2 separate regions of the Homo sapiens genome follow, and region 2 is linked to region 1. The links are contacts of gene promoters, found by promoter capture Hi-C in human tissues and cell types (Jung and others, 2019). All regions are on one chromosome and are shown on one strand. Each heading gives the region's core, a stretch centred on a gene start or on the middle of the fragment in contact. The rest is flanking DNA. Distances are from core to core; before and after follow the strand shown.

Evidence for each region. Contacts are between HindIII fragments. The study calls those that stand out against the background at their distance.
Region 2: a fragment that was not itself captured here is called in contact with the fragment with the promoter of PARP12 in region 1 in 1 of the 25 tissues and cell types used here (lymphoblastoid cells).

The regions. Positions count from the first base shown.
Region 1 is chr7:140,059,828-140,067,471 of GRCh38, forward strand. It overlaps PARP12 (poly(ADP-ribose) polymerase family member 12), which reads right to left and starts at 3,124. Exons shown (of 12, transcript NM_022750.4): 1 at 2,695-3,124. The coding sequence starts at 3,020. RefSeq lists a silencer at 2,732-3,051 and an enhancer at 3,062-3,271. The HindIII fragment of the contact is 11,268 bases long and covers 1-7,644 here.
Region 2 is chr7:139,430,845-139,438,488 of GRCh38, forward strand. It overlaps a transcript of KLRG2 not described here. Among named protein-coding and RNA genes, the nearest start is that of KLRG2, 49 kb to the right of the region's middle. The HindIII fragment of the contact is 9,179 bases long and covers 183-7,644 here.

The DNA.
Region 1 (7,644 bases), core at 1,874-4,373:
GGAAGGGCACCTGAGCCAGTCAGGGCTGGGAGAGAACTGGGGAAGAAATCAGGGGAGCATGCTGGATGGCATAAAGCCTGAGTGGAATACTTAAAGGGTGAGGAGGAGACAGCAAGAGAAAGGAAGAACATTCCAGAAGAGGGGCAAATAATTTGGTGCTGCCAGAGCCAAATATATCTAATAAGTGTAACGATGACTGATGGTAACAATGATAATGACTACTAAAATTTATTGAGCAACTGCCAAATATCGGGGATTGCCAAAATGTTTTATGAGTTAATCATTCAGTCCTCAACCAGCCTGTGAGGGTAGTAATATCATTAACTCCACTTTGCAGATGAGGGAACTGAGACCTGGAGGTAAAGTCACTTGCCCGAAGCCATCAGCTAGCAAGGAGCAGAGCCCAGGTTGAAACAAGGTGGGCTGGATCTTGGGACTGTGCCCTAGACCACCAGGCTCAATGCCTCCTGAGTAGAGGACTAAGAGTCAGGCACCCAGGACTCCGTACCAGCTCTGCAGCAGGACTGATGAGCTATTTCTAAAAGAACTGACCCTGCGGTTCAGGAAGACAAGCAGAGTCACAGGGGAAGCAGAAAAGTGCAGCCAACCACACCCACTCTCCCTAAAGTGAGTCAGAAATGGAAGGTTCAAGAAACTCACCTGTGTAAACCACAAGGAAAAGAGAAAACTGAAGAAAGAAGAAAACTCAAGGTCATCTGAGCCAGTAAATATCACACTACAGATTTCCGAGACAAGTCAGACCTGACCCCACATTTTGGGAACTAGCTTAAGAACAGGGCTGCCATCTTTATTTTACCAAATATGAACATGAAACAGATCTACCAGTTACCCCCATGAGTGGCTCTATCCAGCCACCATTTGCTGTGTGCCTTCCTCCTCGTGGGCTGTTGTTCCCTGCTCTCCCCTGGACTGCCTCATCCCTGAAGGCTGATTTCCCCAGAGTTCCACCCTCAGCCTCTTTTCAGGCCTCAGACGCTACCTCAGATCTGATCCACTCCTGGGGCTGCAACTACAACATACACCGCCCAATATCTCCCAAACCAGCCCAGCGCATTGGGGCCCTGGCCTTCCTCCCAAGCTTCTGACCTGAACAGCTGCCTCCTGGGCATGCTTCCAAACTAAAACCCTCTCTTGCTCTCTCAGTGAACAACACCCAGGCCACCGCAGGAACAGAGACTGAAGAGTCGTCACCTCTCACATATCCTCTCATCACACCGTCACCAGCTATCCCAAATTTCTCACACACATAGCCCTTGGAAAGCTCTAATCTAGATACTTCCAGACAGCTGCTTCCTAGAGGCATTTCCCAGTCACCCTGCATCTAGACAGGGTCACGAGACAGCTTCTGGTCAATGGGATGTGGGTGAAAGGAAATCCACCACTTCTAGACCTGGCCCACAAAAACCTCCCATGCATCCCTCTTTTCGATCAGCCCCCTCGAACTTGATAACCTAGGCTGGCCTCAAGAGCCATGTGCTGAGGGGCACAGAGCGGAGGTCAGTCAGCCTGCATCCCTGAATGACTGTATGGATCAAGGCCCCCACCCCATGCTCACTACTGGGCCTGACATGAGCAAGAAATATCTACTCTATTAAGACAAACATACACACACACACACAAAACAGGGAGCAAGCAAGAAAGGAGGGAGCAGGGGAGGAAGGAATTCTCCTTGATGACTAGCTTCCCAGTGGTTCCCCCACAACATCCTCCCTTAAATTGGCACCCACACCACTACCTTAGACTTCCTAAAACGCAAACCTGATGGTTGCTCTCTCCTGCCATTTTACCCGCCCCATCACCTCCAGGGTGAGGCCCAAATTCTTTAGCATAAACCTCAGCAATCCCTTCCACACATCCCACTGGCCACATGCTATGCACAGAACATGGACGCTAAGTGCTGGGGAGACAGCTGGAGCCTCTGCCCTCAGGGAGTTTCTATTCTACTGGCAGCTGGGTGCCATGAGGAAAATAAACAGTTCCCTGTGACCAAGAGTAAGGGGAGGAAAAATCCTCAAATGGGATGTGATCTTTAGGTTGAGGCCTGAAGGATTAACAAATAGGGCCAACCAAGAGCAAGAAGGGCATTCCAGGCAGAGCAAAGACTCCCAGAAATGCCCAGGCTCCCAGAAATGCCCGGGGGGGGGGGGGTGTTCCAGTCACAGAAGGGTCCTGGGTGGGCAGGGACCAGTGCCCCAGGACCTTGTGGGCGATGGCAGGGAGTCTGCATTTTCCAGTTTGTAAGCAGATTAATAGGGTTGAACTGGGTTTAAAGATCTCTACCAGCTGCTGGGCAGAGAAAACCTTCATTGTCTGGCCTCAAAGCTGGCAAGGGGCGACCCGCGGCGTCGTGGAGTTCCCCTAAGCCGCCGCCTCCCTCCCTCCCCACCCCACACGGCCACACCCGGGTGTTCCACCCGGCACTACCATGCTCTATGTAAATCACTCTCTCCCCCCAGGCGTCTAGAGGACCCCACTCGACCCTGAGTCCCTCGCACTGTGCCAGGTACTCCGCAGGTGCTCATTAAACGCTCGCTTTAGTGAATGACGGTGCGAGGTCAGGGCAGAGCCACCGAATTGTCTGCTCAAACTTCAAGTAGGACCCCCAAGCGGGCTGGAAGTGCGTGAGGGCGCGCAGGACCTCCGCCCGCCGTCGCTCCCGGCGCGGCGCCTTACCCGGCTCTCAGGAACTTGCAGGCGCCGTAGACCATGAACCTGCAGAGGTGGAGCTGCGCGCAGAGCCCCACGCAGCCCGGCTTGGAGCCCTGGTGCGCGCGACACAGGCGCAGCGGCGAGGCGGCCAGCACCACGCGCTCCGGGGCCGCGGCTGCGCCGCCCGCCCGCACCGCCACCACGAAGCGCCCACGCTGCCGCAGCAGCCGCTCCAGCGCGTCGGCGCTCAAGCCCATCCGCAAGCGGCGCCGCAGCTCGGGCAACTCCAGGGCGCCCCCGGCCGCGCACAGCACCTGGGTGACCTCACCGACGACGCCGGCCTGGGCCATGGCCGCTGGGCCTGCTCCCGTCGGACCGCGGGTGGCGCGACGCGGACGGCGGCGGACGCTGGCTGGCGGGCGGCTCTCGCAGGGTGGAGACGCCGGCGGGAAACGAAACCGAAAGCGGCCCCGGGCCGGCGAAAAACAGAACCTGTGCGCCCTCGCCACGCCCCCGGTCCGCAGCTGAGCGGCTGCGCCTTCCGCCTCAGGGCCCCCAGCTGTGAGGCCGCCGCCCGACGGAAGCTCGGGAGCTCTTGAGCTCGGGCGTTCGGCCCGGAGCGCGGGCTGTGGCTGTGGCGGCTCGCGGGGGTCAGTACCTAGTCCCTGAAAATGGCTTCCCTGGATGTTTGAGGGACCAGGAGCCCCTAATGCCGCGATGCTCAGCGCGCCTTCAGTCAGAGGGAGCCTCGAGGGCGGCGGCAGCGCTGGCGGAGCCGGCTGGACGCCGCCGGTTAAAGCCGCTCAGCGTCGCCCAGGCCAAGCCCGGGCTTCGTAGACGGCTCACAGAAACAGGGACAACTGACGGGAGCTCTCACCCCTCGAACAAGTGACAAAAGCGATCACTCCGCATAGAAGACGCACTTAATTAAAGGTTCCTTTCGCCTCGGTGCATCAATGAGTTCCTTCATTTAAACATAAAAGGGTATGTCCTTTAAAAGAGCAAATCCGTGAGCCGAGATTGCGCGACTGCACTCCAGCCTGGGCGACAGAGCGAGACTCCGTCTCAAAAAATAAAATAAAATAAAATAAAATCCGTTACTCCCAGCCCCTGCTAAGTAACGATTGAACAAATATTTTAGAAGACCCTTCAGAGCAAAGGACCCTCTCACACGCTGAGAGCAATGCGAGTTGTTAGAGCCCTTTGAGGAGGTAATCCAGGAATAGCTATTAAAATTGAAAACGCGTGTGACCTTTGACCCAGCAATCTTTCCTCTCGGAATCTTCCAGAAGTAAAAGGAACAGTAAATAAGTTATGTGTGAAAGTGTTACTGGGGGAACCCTACCTGGGAGGTAGGGTTACGTGGGAACAGTGTGGTTGATCTTTAAAGACTATTACGAAGGCTGTTTAACAAGCATGCGTTAGAGCTCCGTGTGCGGATGTAGAGGGGCAGACAGCCATGATGTGGTGGTAAACGAGAAAAGATGGCTGTACAGAAATGTCTAAATAATCAAGTTGAATGATCAAGAATTAATTTTTTTAAATGTCTGAATAACAAAAAGAGAAGCCTGTGTGTGTGTGTGTGGCAGGATATTTTTGAATAAGCACGGAGAAAGATGAAGAAACACACAAGGGTAGTTGAGAGGAGGCAGTAGGAGGTATTAGGAAAATGGAAAAGGGAAGATGAGAGGCAGAAGGATTGTGGGGGGAGAGTACTTACGGTATACGGTATAACATTCACTAAAAATGAATATAAAAATCTTAACTATAGGCCAGGCACAGTGGCTCACGCCTGTAATCCCAGCACTTTGGGAGGTCAAGGCGGGCGGATCACTTGAGGTCAGTAGTTTGAGACCAGCCTGGCCAACGTGGTGAAACCCCGTCTCTGCTAAAAACGTAAAAATTAGCCGGGCGTGGTAACGGGCGCCAGTAATCCCAGCTACTCGGGAGACAGGCAGGAGAATCGCTTGAATCCGGGAGGCAGAGATTGCAGTGAGCGGAGATCATGACACTGCACTCCAGCCTGGGCGACAGAGTGAGACTCCATCTTTAAAAAAAAAAAAAAAATTACCTGTACTATTACTACAAAAATGTAAATAATAAGTGTATGGATAAAGACTAGATAGTAACATGGACAAATGAAAATGAATTTATTTAATTAGGAAATTGAATGAAGGGTTTTCTCTTGGATTTTAATTGTGATTTTAATGTTTTCATTGTATAAAATGTTAATTTTGTTTTTGTTATTGTTTTAGAGACAAGGTCTTGGTCTGTCACCCAGGCTGTAGTATAATGGTACAGTCATAGCTCACTACAACCTGGAACTTCTGGGCTCAAGCGAACCTTCCACCTTAGCCTCCCAAGTAGCTGGGCCTAGAGGCACGTGCCACCATGCCCAGATAATTTTTATATTTTTTTGTAGAGACACTGTCTCATTTGTTGCCCAGGCTGATCTTGAACTCCTGGCCTCAAGCAGTCCTCCCACCTCAGATTCCTAAAGTGCTGGGATTACAGTGAGCCACCACGCCTAGCCTAAAATGTTAATTTTTAATTTAAAATGTTAGGCAGAGTGCAGTGGCTCACGCATGTAATCCCAGCATTTTGGGAGGCCGAGGTGGGTGGATCACTTGAGGTCAGGAGTTCAAGACCAGCCTGGCCAACTTGGTGAAACCCCATCTCTCCTAAAAATACAAAAATTAGCCAGGTGTGATGGTGTGTGCCTGTAATCCCAGCTACCTGGGAGGCTGAGGCAGGAAAATCGTTTGAACCAGGGAGGCGGAGGTTGCAGTGAGTCAAGATCGCACCGTTGCACTCCAGCCTGGGCAACAGAGCAAGACTCCGTCTCAAAAAAAAAGTTAATTTTAGTTGTGGTTTCCATATTTTTTTGCAATAAAATAACATTTTTTAAAAAAGAAAGGAAGAGTGATGTCAGTGAAAATGGTGGATTAAGTATCCCAGCAAGTTTGCCCTTCCATAAAGGAAGCAAGGAAAGAACTGACAAAAATTGTCAGAATCAACTTTCTTAGAGCCCTAGAAATTAGTCACAGGTTTGCAGCAACCCATCTGGCATTTAGTCAGGAAAAACAGCAAACTCTCAGTAAGAACAGCAATATTTATAGTATTTTAATTTACCCTAGTCCTATCGCACCCCCATCTCTAGTTCCATGGCAGCCTTGAAAACTTACAGCCCACGTTCCTAGTACCTGTACCAGAGGGAGGAGACAGGGCTGGAGCTACTTCAAAGTCTCATTCCCAAAGAAGAGTCATTATTTAACCTATCTAGTGGGTCCCTGGAAAAAAATCCTGAAAAGGGTTGTCTTTATTCAACCTCTTTGGAACTAGCTCAGTCCTAAAGGTTTTTCCACCTGAAGAGGGAGTGATTTGTCAAATATTTTAACATTGTAACTGGCTGAGGCAATAGGTAACGGTAGGGGCAAACAATAGACTAACAAAGAAATGTAAAAGGAAACGTTGAAGGAAGAGATGTCCATAGGGGCTTTGAAAAGCTCCAGTATATTTTCAGGAATTTAGAAGGCCATGTGCATGTGTAGGGCTGTGCACATGCTCTGTTAACACCTGAGAAGATCCTAACCTCTCACTACTAGCTGACACTGAGGCTCTGTGCTAGCAGGAAATAAAAGCTATGCAGAGTTGCAAACTGCCTAATGAAAATTGAAGACATACCCCAAAGTGCATACAGAGCCCCTTGGCAAAGACTAGGAGACATATTGGTTCCAGGTGTTTAAGGAAATCTCCATCTAATCATTAGTTGACCAAGTAGAGACTTCAATAGTCACACACAATGAAGATACACACTTTAAAAAATTAGTTCAAAAAAGTTACTAAACAGCAACTATTAGGTTGGTGCAAACCGCAATTATTTTTGCACCAACCTAATACTAAAATAAGCACAATCAAACCCTGAGGAGAGAGGAGTATCTGACTTTGAGAGTTGGCACATTGTTTGAAATGTCCAATTTTCAACTAAAAATTATGTGACTTGCAAAGAAACAAGAAAGTAAGACCCATACAAAGGAAATAAGAGCAATCAATAAAAACTGTTCCTAAGAAAACCCAGATGCTGAACTTTGTAGACAAAGAGTGTAAATCAGCTATTTTTGATATGTTCACAGAGCTAAAGGAAACCATCTCTAAAAATGTAAAAGAAAGGATGAGAATGATGCCTTGCCAAACAGAATATTAATAAAGACACAGAAATTATAATAAGGAACCAATAAAGGTTCTGGAGCCAAAAAGTACAATAACTGAAATGTTAAATTCACTAGAAGGGTTCAGCAGCAGATTTGAGCATGCGAAAGAAAAAAAAAATCAGCAAACTTGAAGATAGATCAATTGATGATTATCTGGTCTGTGGAACAGAAACGAAAAAGAAAAATGAAAAGAGCCTCAGAGACCTGTGGGACACCATCAGATATACCAATAACACAAAATGGAAGTCTTAGAAGGAGAAGAGAGAGAGAGAAAGGAAAGCGAGAATATATGAAGAAATTTTGGCTAAAATTTCTCAGATTTGATGAAAAACATTAATCTACACATCCAAGAAGCTTAATGAATTCCAAGTAGGAAAAACTCAAATAGATCTACACCTAGACACATCATAATCAAACTTTTGAAAACAAAGAGAATCTTGAAAGCAGCAAGAAAGTAGCAACTCATCATGCACAAGGAATCAACAATAAAATAAAAACAGTTAACTTCTCATCAAAAACCATGCATGCAGAGGGTAGTGTGATGATGTATTCAAAATGTGAAAAGAATCAACCAAGAATTTTATATCCAGCAAAACTATCTTTCAGAAATGAAGGAGAAATTAAGATATTCCCAGATAAACTAAAGCTGAGCCCGTTAGTTGCTAGCACTGGGAGAAACACTAAAGAGAGTCGTTTGGGCTGAAAGTGAAAGACACTAAACAGCAACTGGAATTCTCATGAAGAAAGAAAAGCACCAGTAAAG
Region 2 (7,644 bases), core at 3,522-6,021, 630 kb before region 1:
CTAAAAATACAAAAATTAGCTAGGCATGGTGGCAGGTGCCTATAATCCCAGCTACTTGGGAGGCTGAGGCAGAAGAATCACTTGAACCGGGGAGGGGGAGGTTGCAGCAGTGAGCCGAGATTGCACCATTGCACTCCAGCCTGGGTGACAGAGTGAGACCCTGTCTCAGAAAAAAAAAAAAAAAAAGGTTAAATTGTGATACATCTCTATAAAGGAAGGGATTACTGACACAAGCAGCAACATGAATACCTTTAAAACATGCTGAGCTAATAAATCAAAAGCTGAGCTAAAGGAATGAGACACAAAAGAGTACACATACTGTACAATCAATTCTCTATGTGAAATCCTAGAACAGGCAAAACTGGTTTCTAGGGACAGAAAGCAGGTTTGCCTGGGGCCGGACCTCAGGGAGGACCAAGGATTAATGGCAGAGAGGGAACTTTCTAGCGTGTTGGAAATCTTCCATATTTTGATTGGCAGTAGTTACATGGGTGCCTACATTTGTCAAAAGGCAGTCTTAAAATAGATACACTTTCTTCATTATGCCTCAGTAAATCTGATTGAAAATATATACACTTTTTTTTTTTTCCTGTTGGCAGTATGGACTCTTTTAGGCAGGGTAGCTCAAAATGTGGCTTCTGGACCACCAACCAGCATCAGAATTACCAGGAAAATTGGGAAAGACCTTGTTTGGGGACCCCCATCCCATGCCTGACCTACTGAAAAACCAAATATCCAGAGCTGCTCTTCTGTGGCCTGCGATCCGCTAGGCCAGCCTGAGTCAGAGCCCGGCCTCAAAAGCTCCACTACATAAGCTGGGGCTGGTGGTAATGTTGAGTGTCAGTTTCAAACAATAGCAGCTGGCAGTGCCTGGTGGGAAGAGACTAGAAGAAGTAGAGGAATTCCATGCAGACCAACCTACTGTGTAGCTCTTCTCTTCAAACTTCTGCTTGTAGAAAGCAAAGGTATGCTCTAAAGTAGAGGTTGAAACTCATGAGAATTTACCTTGGTGAAAGAAAGGGTTAGAAGCTATTTTTAAAAAGCAGTTGCAGGAAGCATTTCTGAAGTCAGAACTTCTCAACCCAGGCTGTACACCAGACTCTTGTGGACCTTTTAAAACATCTAATTTCTATTTTTATCAAAGGAGACATGAATATGGTGTTTTTTAAAAAGGTGGAGATGGTTTTAAGTTTGTAAATGTATGTTTTAAAAAAAAAAAAGTCAGTCCTGACCAGGCACGGTGCCTCACGCTTGTAATTCCAGCACTTTGAGAGGCTAAGGCAGGAGGATTGCTTGAGCCCAGGAGTTCAAGCCCAACACAGGCAACAAAGGGAGATCCTGTCTCTACAAAATATTTAAAATCTAGCCAGGCACAGTGGCCTGTGCCCGTACTCCCAGCTGCTTGGGAGGCTGAGGCGGGAGGATCACTGGCGCCCAGGATGAGACTGCAGTGAGCTGTGATCACACCACTGCACTCCAGCCCAGTCAACAGAGAGGGACTCTGTCTTTGAAAAAAGAAAAAGAAAAAAAAAAGTCTGCCTACAGCCTAGTCTCGCTGTAAACTGATTCCTCTTTGGAGGGAGACATTTACAGAGTTTAAATTATATGCAGGCGAAATACACAATCTTGAGAGTACAGCTTGATGGGTTTTTATATATGTATGGTCATTCCTCGGTATCTATGGGGGATTGATTGCAGGACCCCCCCCCCCCAATATTTTTTTTTGAGACGGAATCTAACTGTTCCTCAGGTCTGAGTGCAGTGGTGTGATCTCGGTTCAGTGCAGCCTCCGCCTCTGCTTCCTGGGTTCAAGCGCCACATCTGAGGGTGCACAAGTCTCTCATACAAAATGGTGTGGCATTTGCACATAACCTATGCATATCATCTCTGTATACTTTAAGTCACCTCTACATTGCTTATAACACCTGATACAATGTAAATGCTACGTAAACAGTTGTTACATTGTTTGTATATCATTTGTATTTTTTTAAATGATTTTCTCCCAAATATTTTAAACCCAAGGTTGGTTGAATTCACCGACGCAGAATCCATGGATAGGGAGGGCCAACACCCAACTCCCACCCAGATCAAGATACGGACCATTTCCAGCACCCTAGAAAGTTCCCTGATGGTCCTTCCAAGCTAATAGTCCCCGCTTCTCAAGATAATCACTATTCTGACTTCGGACACCACTGGTTAGAACCACTTTAGGTGCTTTCTGTGGTTCCTCCTTGTATTTGTTTTCATAGTTCTAAATAATGTTTATACTGCTGTTTCTTGGCTTGCCAACTTGGGACAATGGTAGCTTTCTCGAATAGCAGACCAGACTTTCACTCAGTCTCCATCCTCACCAAGTAAAACAAAAATGTTCCAGATTTCCAGGCCCCGGGATCACTCCTACCACTACCTTGGCTTACTCAGATTGAATCCTGCACCTGGGAGGAGTCTGAGTACCTGTGGTGTGTGGTTTTTTTTTTGTTTGTTTGTTTGTTTGTTTTTTTGGAGATGTAATTTCTTGTTGCACAGGCTGGAGTACAATGGCACAATCTTGGCTCACCACAACCTCCACTTCCCGAGTTCAAGCGATTCTCCTGCCTCAGTCTCCCGAGTAGCTGGCATTACAGGCATGTGCCACCACACCCGGCTAATTTTGTATTTTTTAGTAGAGACGGGGTTTCTCCATGTTGGTCAGGCTGGTCTCGAACTCCCAACCTCAGGTGATCAGCCTGCCTTGGCCTCCCAAAGTGCTGGGATTACAGGCGTGAACCACTGCGCCCGGCCTTTTTTTTTTTTTTTTTTTGAGATGGAGTCTTGCTCTGTCACCCAGGCTGGAGTGCAGTGGCACATTCTCGCCTCACTGCCGAGAATGCAACCTCCACCTCCGGGGTTCAAGTTATTCTTCTGCCTCAGCCTCCTGAATAGCCGGGATTACAGGTGCCTGCAACTACACCAGGCTAATTTTTGTATTTTTAGTAGAGACAGGGTTTCAACCATGTTGGCCAGGCTGGTCTCGAACTCCTGACCTCAAGTGATCCCCCGCCTCGGCCTCCCAAAGTGCTGGGAGCACTTCAGTGTGAGCCACCGCGCCCAGCATCACGCCCAGCATCACGTGCGTTTTTTAACCTCACAGGCGATTCCAGCCAGCACCTGTCCCTGGGGAGCCCTGAGCCTGTGGTACTTGGCCCTGAGGCTGGGAGGAGCTGAAAGGCTCCTGATGTCCCAGACACAGGATGTTTGCTGTGAGGAGCTTGGAAGTTAAAATAGAGTATGTTCTCAGACTGCCAGGTTAATTTGCAGTTGGAATAAGAAGCAAGCCGTGAGAATCACTAAAGTGTTTCTAAGATTTTTATTGCTTGTCAAGTACATCCTTTAGGGCTCCGCGTCTAAATATTTAAGATTCCAGCTTTGCTCTTATCAGAGCTCAAATGTGGCCACAGTTCTCCCACCCTTTGCCTGGTCATAATTCAGAACCAACTTATCACCATGGTTTGTTCTCATTCTCCTTCTCTTACTCCCAACCAGTGACACCCGGGCTTCTGCTTACAGCTGGAGGCACTGGCCACCTACCTTCCTTCCTTGGCTGGGAGCATCAACAGCCAAGCCCCTTTACACGGCAGTCATCTTGATGAGTTGCTGGGGCCAAAGCCTGCCCTCCCTCCCTCTGTAAGCAGTATGGATTCCTTGTGGCCTTCTGAGCCTTCTCCTTGCTACTCAAGAGTTTCCAAATCAAAAGACTTGCAGCCTGTTCCTGTTTTTTAAAAGTATTTATAAAAGCTGAATGTCAATTTTCTACTTAGAGTTATAAATAGAAGCAGATGCTCTGGTTTGTTGATCAGCACGCTGTGTTCTTACAGGGGAAGTCAAAGAATCCGAAGTGTGCTTGGAGCATAGAACTAGCGCAAGAGGGCGCTAGTGAGGCGGTGCGGCGCGGGCGGCCAGGAGCTAGGGTTTGAAAACAGACTTCGGTTTGAGCCCTGAATCTGCCACTTAGAAGCTGTGTGCCCTTGGGAAGCGATAATAATACATTTACCAAAGTCAGACTAGATAACCCCAGCACTGAGGAGTTATCCACATCATCTCTTCGTCCTTCACAACAATAAATCTATAAGCTAGAAGTTACCATCTCCAGACTTACAGATGAGATTGCTGAGGCTTAAAAAAGTCAAAAAGGTACTCAAGGTATCATGATAGGGCCTGGGGGAGTTGAATGTAGTTTAGATTAACCCCAGGACCTACTACTTTATTTTTATTGCGTTTATTCAAAGGCAAAACCTGTAAGAGATGCCTAAAAATGATAATGGCTACCTTTCTTAAAAAAACTTTATTGAGATTTAATTTTCCCACAATAAAATTCACCAATTTCGGCTGGGCGCAGTGGCTCACGCCTGTAATCCCAGCACTTTGGGAGGCCGAGGGGAGTGGATCACTTGAGGTCAGGAGTTCGAGACCAGCCTGGCCAACATGGTGAAGCCCCATCTCTACCAAAAACACAAAAAATTAGCCGGCATGGTGGCAGGCACCTGTAATCCCAGCTATTCGGGAGGGTGAGGCAGGAGAATCGCTTGAACCCTGAAGGTAGAGGTTGCAGTGAGCCAAGATTGTGCCACTGCACTCCAGCCTGGGTGACAGAGCGAGACTCCGTCTCAAAAAAAAATCACCAATTTTAAGCATACAGTAAGTTGACAAATGTATCCCACCACTGCAATCATGATATAGAATAGTTCCATCTCCCCACAAATTCTCTCCTGGCCTCTCCCAATCCTCTCCTCAAACCTCTGGCCCCGGCAACCACTGATCTCTCTAGCATGAGCTTTATCTTCTCTAGAACTTTATATAAATGGAGTTATTGGCATACAGACTTTCATGCCGACTTCCTTCCCTTAACACGATGCTGCTGAGACTCACCCGTGCTGTGTGCATCAGCACATCCCACCTTTTCACATTGAGTAGAATCCATTGTAAGGGTGCCCCGCCGCTTACCCACTTAAAGTCATGTGTTTATTTGCTTTTTGTGTATCTTTTTGGTGAAGTGTCTATTCAGATCTTATATAGGGCCTGTAATTTTTTTTTTTTTTGAGATAGGGTCTTGCTCTGTCACCCAGGCTGGAGTGCAATGGCACAATCTTGGCTCATTGCAACCTCCACCTCCCATGTTCAAGTGATTCTCCTGTCTCAGCCTCCCAAGTAGCTGGGATTACAGGTATGCACCACCATACCCGGCTAATTTGTGTATTTTTTAGTAGAGACAGGGTTTCACCATGTTGGCCAGGCTGGTCTCGAACTCCTGACCTCGAGTGATCTGCCCACCTCAGGCTCCCAAAGTGGTGGGATTACAAGCATGAGCCATTGTGCCTGGCCGGGTCTGTACTCTTAACCCGCACACTCTACCTGCGCATTTTTTTCCTCGAGTCTCATCTATTAAATGGAAATAAAAACGCAAGCATGGAAGAAGACTGCTGCTGTTCCGTCTGCCCTTCCCCCACTGTCTAGGGAACCCCCCCCTTCACACCTCTGCAGTCACACGAATGTTTTAGTCAATGTGGACGTTTCCACACTGGTAACAGTGACAGCTTAGTGGTCCAGAGGCGGGTGCCTGAGCCTGTTTAAAACAATCCCAGTCCTTCCTTGGGACTAGTTTCTAGCTTGGACTGGCTGTTCTCTTGAACTGAGGATGTCACGGAAGTTGACAGCTGTTAGTGGCCATGTGCCGCCATGATAAAGCTGGCCACCGCAGAAGCAAGTGACCCAGGCACAGGAAGAGGGGTCGAGGCAGGACATGAGGAGCCCGGCTCCAGCCAGTCCCAAGCCCAGTTGTATCCCTACTCTTGGCCTCTCTAAGGCCCTCCTGAGTCTTCTAATCATTTCTCTTTCTTGCGTAGGCAGCTTGGAATTGGGTTTTTGTTACTAAAAGCCAAACTAACCCACTAATGTACTGGGTCATTGTGGAAATTCCATGCGCTCTATATGTAAACTGTTCACACACACTACCTGGGGCATGGCAGAGTCACCACAGATGTTGGCTACGACACTGCCAGGTGGCCAGTCCCAGCTAGAATGGCCAGGCACTGGGTCCTGCTGCCCTCACTTCACTCGGTGTCCTTGGATCCTCACAGCCTCACCCGGACTGTGTGTGCAAGGACCTTACGGGTTTGAGGTGAGGCCGGAGCTTGACAGGGGACGAAGAACAACTTAACACCCTGTGAAGTGGGAAATGCCATCTGTGAGAAAGACGCCACTGTGCAGAACTGACAGACCCAGCCTCTAGACTCTTCCTACAGATATTCAAGAAATGAATGATTTGGCCAGGCGCAGTGGCTCATGCCTGTAATCCTAGCCCTTTGGGAGGCCGAGGCAGGTGGATCAGCTGAGGTCAGGAGTTCAAGACCAGCCTGGCCAACATGGCGAAACCCATCTTTACTAAAATACAAAAATTAGCCAGGCATGATGGCGGGTGCCTGTAGTCCCAGCTACTCGGGAGGCTGAGATGGGAGAATCGCTTGAACCCAGGAGACGGTGGTTGCAGTAAGCCAAGATTACACTACTGCACTCCAGCCCGGGCAGCTGAGGGAGACTCCATCTCCAAAAAAAAAAAAAAAAAAAAAAAAAAATTCATCATTAGTTTGTTTGTTTGAGACAGAGTCTCGCTCTGTTGCCCAGGCTGGAATGCAGTGGCATGATCTCAGCTTACTACAACCACTGTCTCCCAGGTTCAAGCAATTCTCATGCCTCAGCTTCCTGAGTAGCTGGAATTACAGGCATGTACCACCACACATGGCTAATTTTTTGTATTTTCAGTACAGATGGGGTTTTGCCACATTGGCCATGCTGGTCTCCAACTCCTGACCTCAGGTGATCCACCTGCCTCAGCCTCCCAAAGTGCTGGGATTACAGGCGTGAGCCACCGCACCCGGCCATCATTAGTCATTTTTCTACGAGTTATTAGGCATAAATTGTGAAACATTCACAGGAGGGATTGTGTGTTTGAGATCATCTCTGGTCCAGTTCTTTGCCTCTCCCTGCATCCATGCCCTTTGCCACCTGAGCCTGCAGCTTCATCTACTTCAGGACTGGCTGGACTCCCCCACCCCTGCCCACTGAGTTTGGCTGTTTCTGTGGCTCCAGCTAGTGGCCTGTTGGGGAAAGAATGGTGTGTCAGTTCTGACCTAGGCCTCAAAAGGCCTGCGTGTTTCTTTTGGCTCTCTTGCCATTGTCATAAGACTATGTCTGCCTATCCCAGTAGCTGGAGGACAATGAAGGACACACGGAACAGGGCTGCTCCAGCCAAGGCCGGGCTAGAGAAGGCCACCCAAGCCAACTTGCAGATGTAGGGGAGCCCAGCTGAGATTGGTGGAGCCGGCCAAACAAACGTGTATTGTTCAGAAATGCAGTTTTATTTATTTTTGAGATGGAGGTGTCTCACTTTGTCACCCAGACTAGAGTGCAGTGGTGTGATTGTAGCTCACTACAGCCTTGAACTCCTGGGCTCAAGTGATCCTCCCACCTGAGTAACTGGGACCACAGACATGTGCCACCATTCCTGGCTATTTTCCTTGGTATATACAGGGTCTTGCTTTGTTGCTCAGGCTGGTCTAGAACTCCTGGGTCCAAGAGATCCTCCTGCCTTAGCCTCCTAAAGTATTGGGA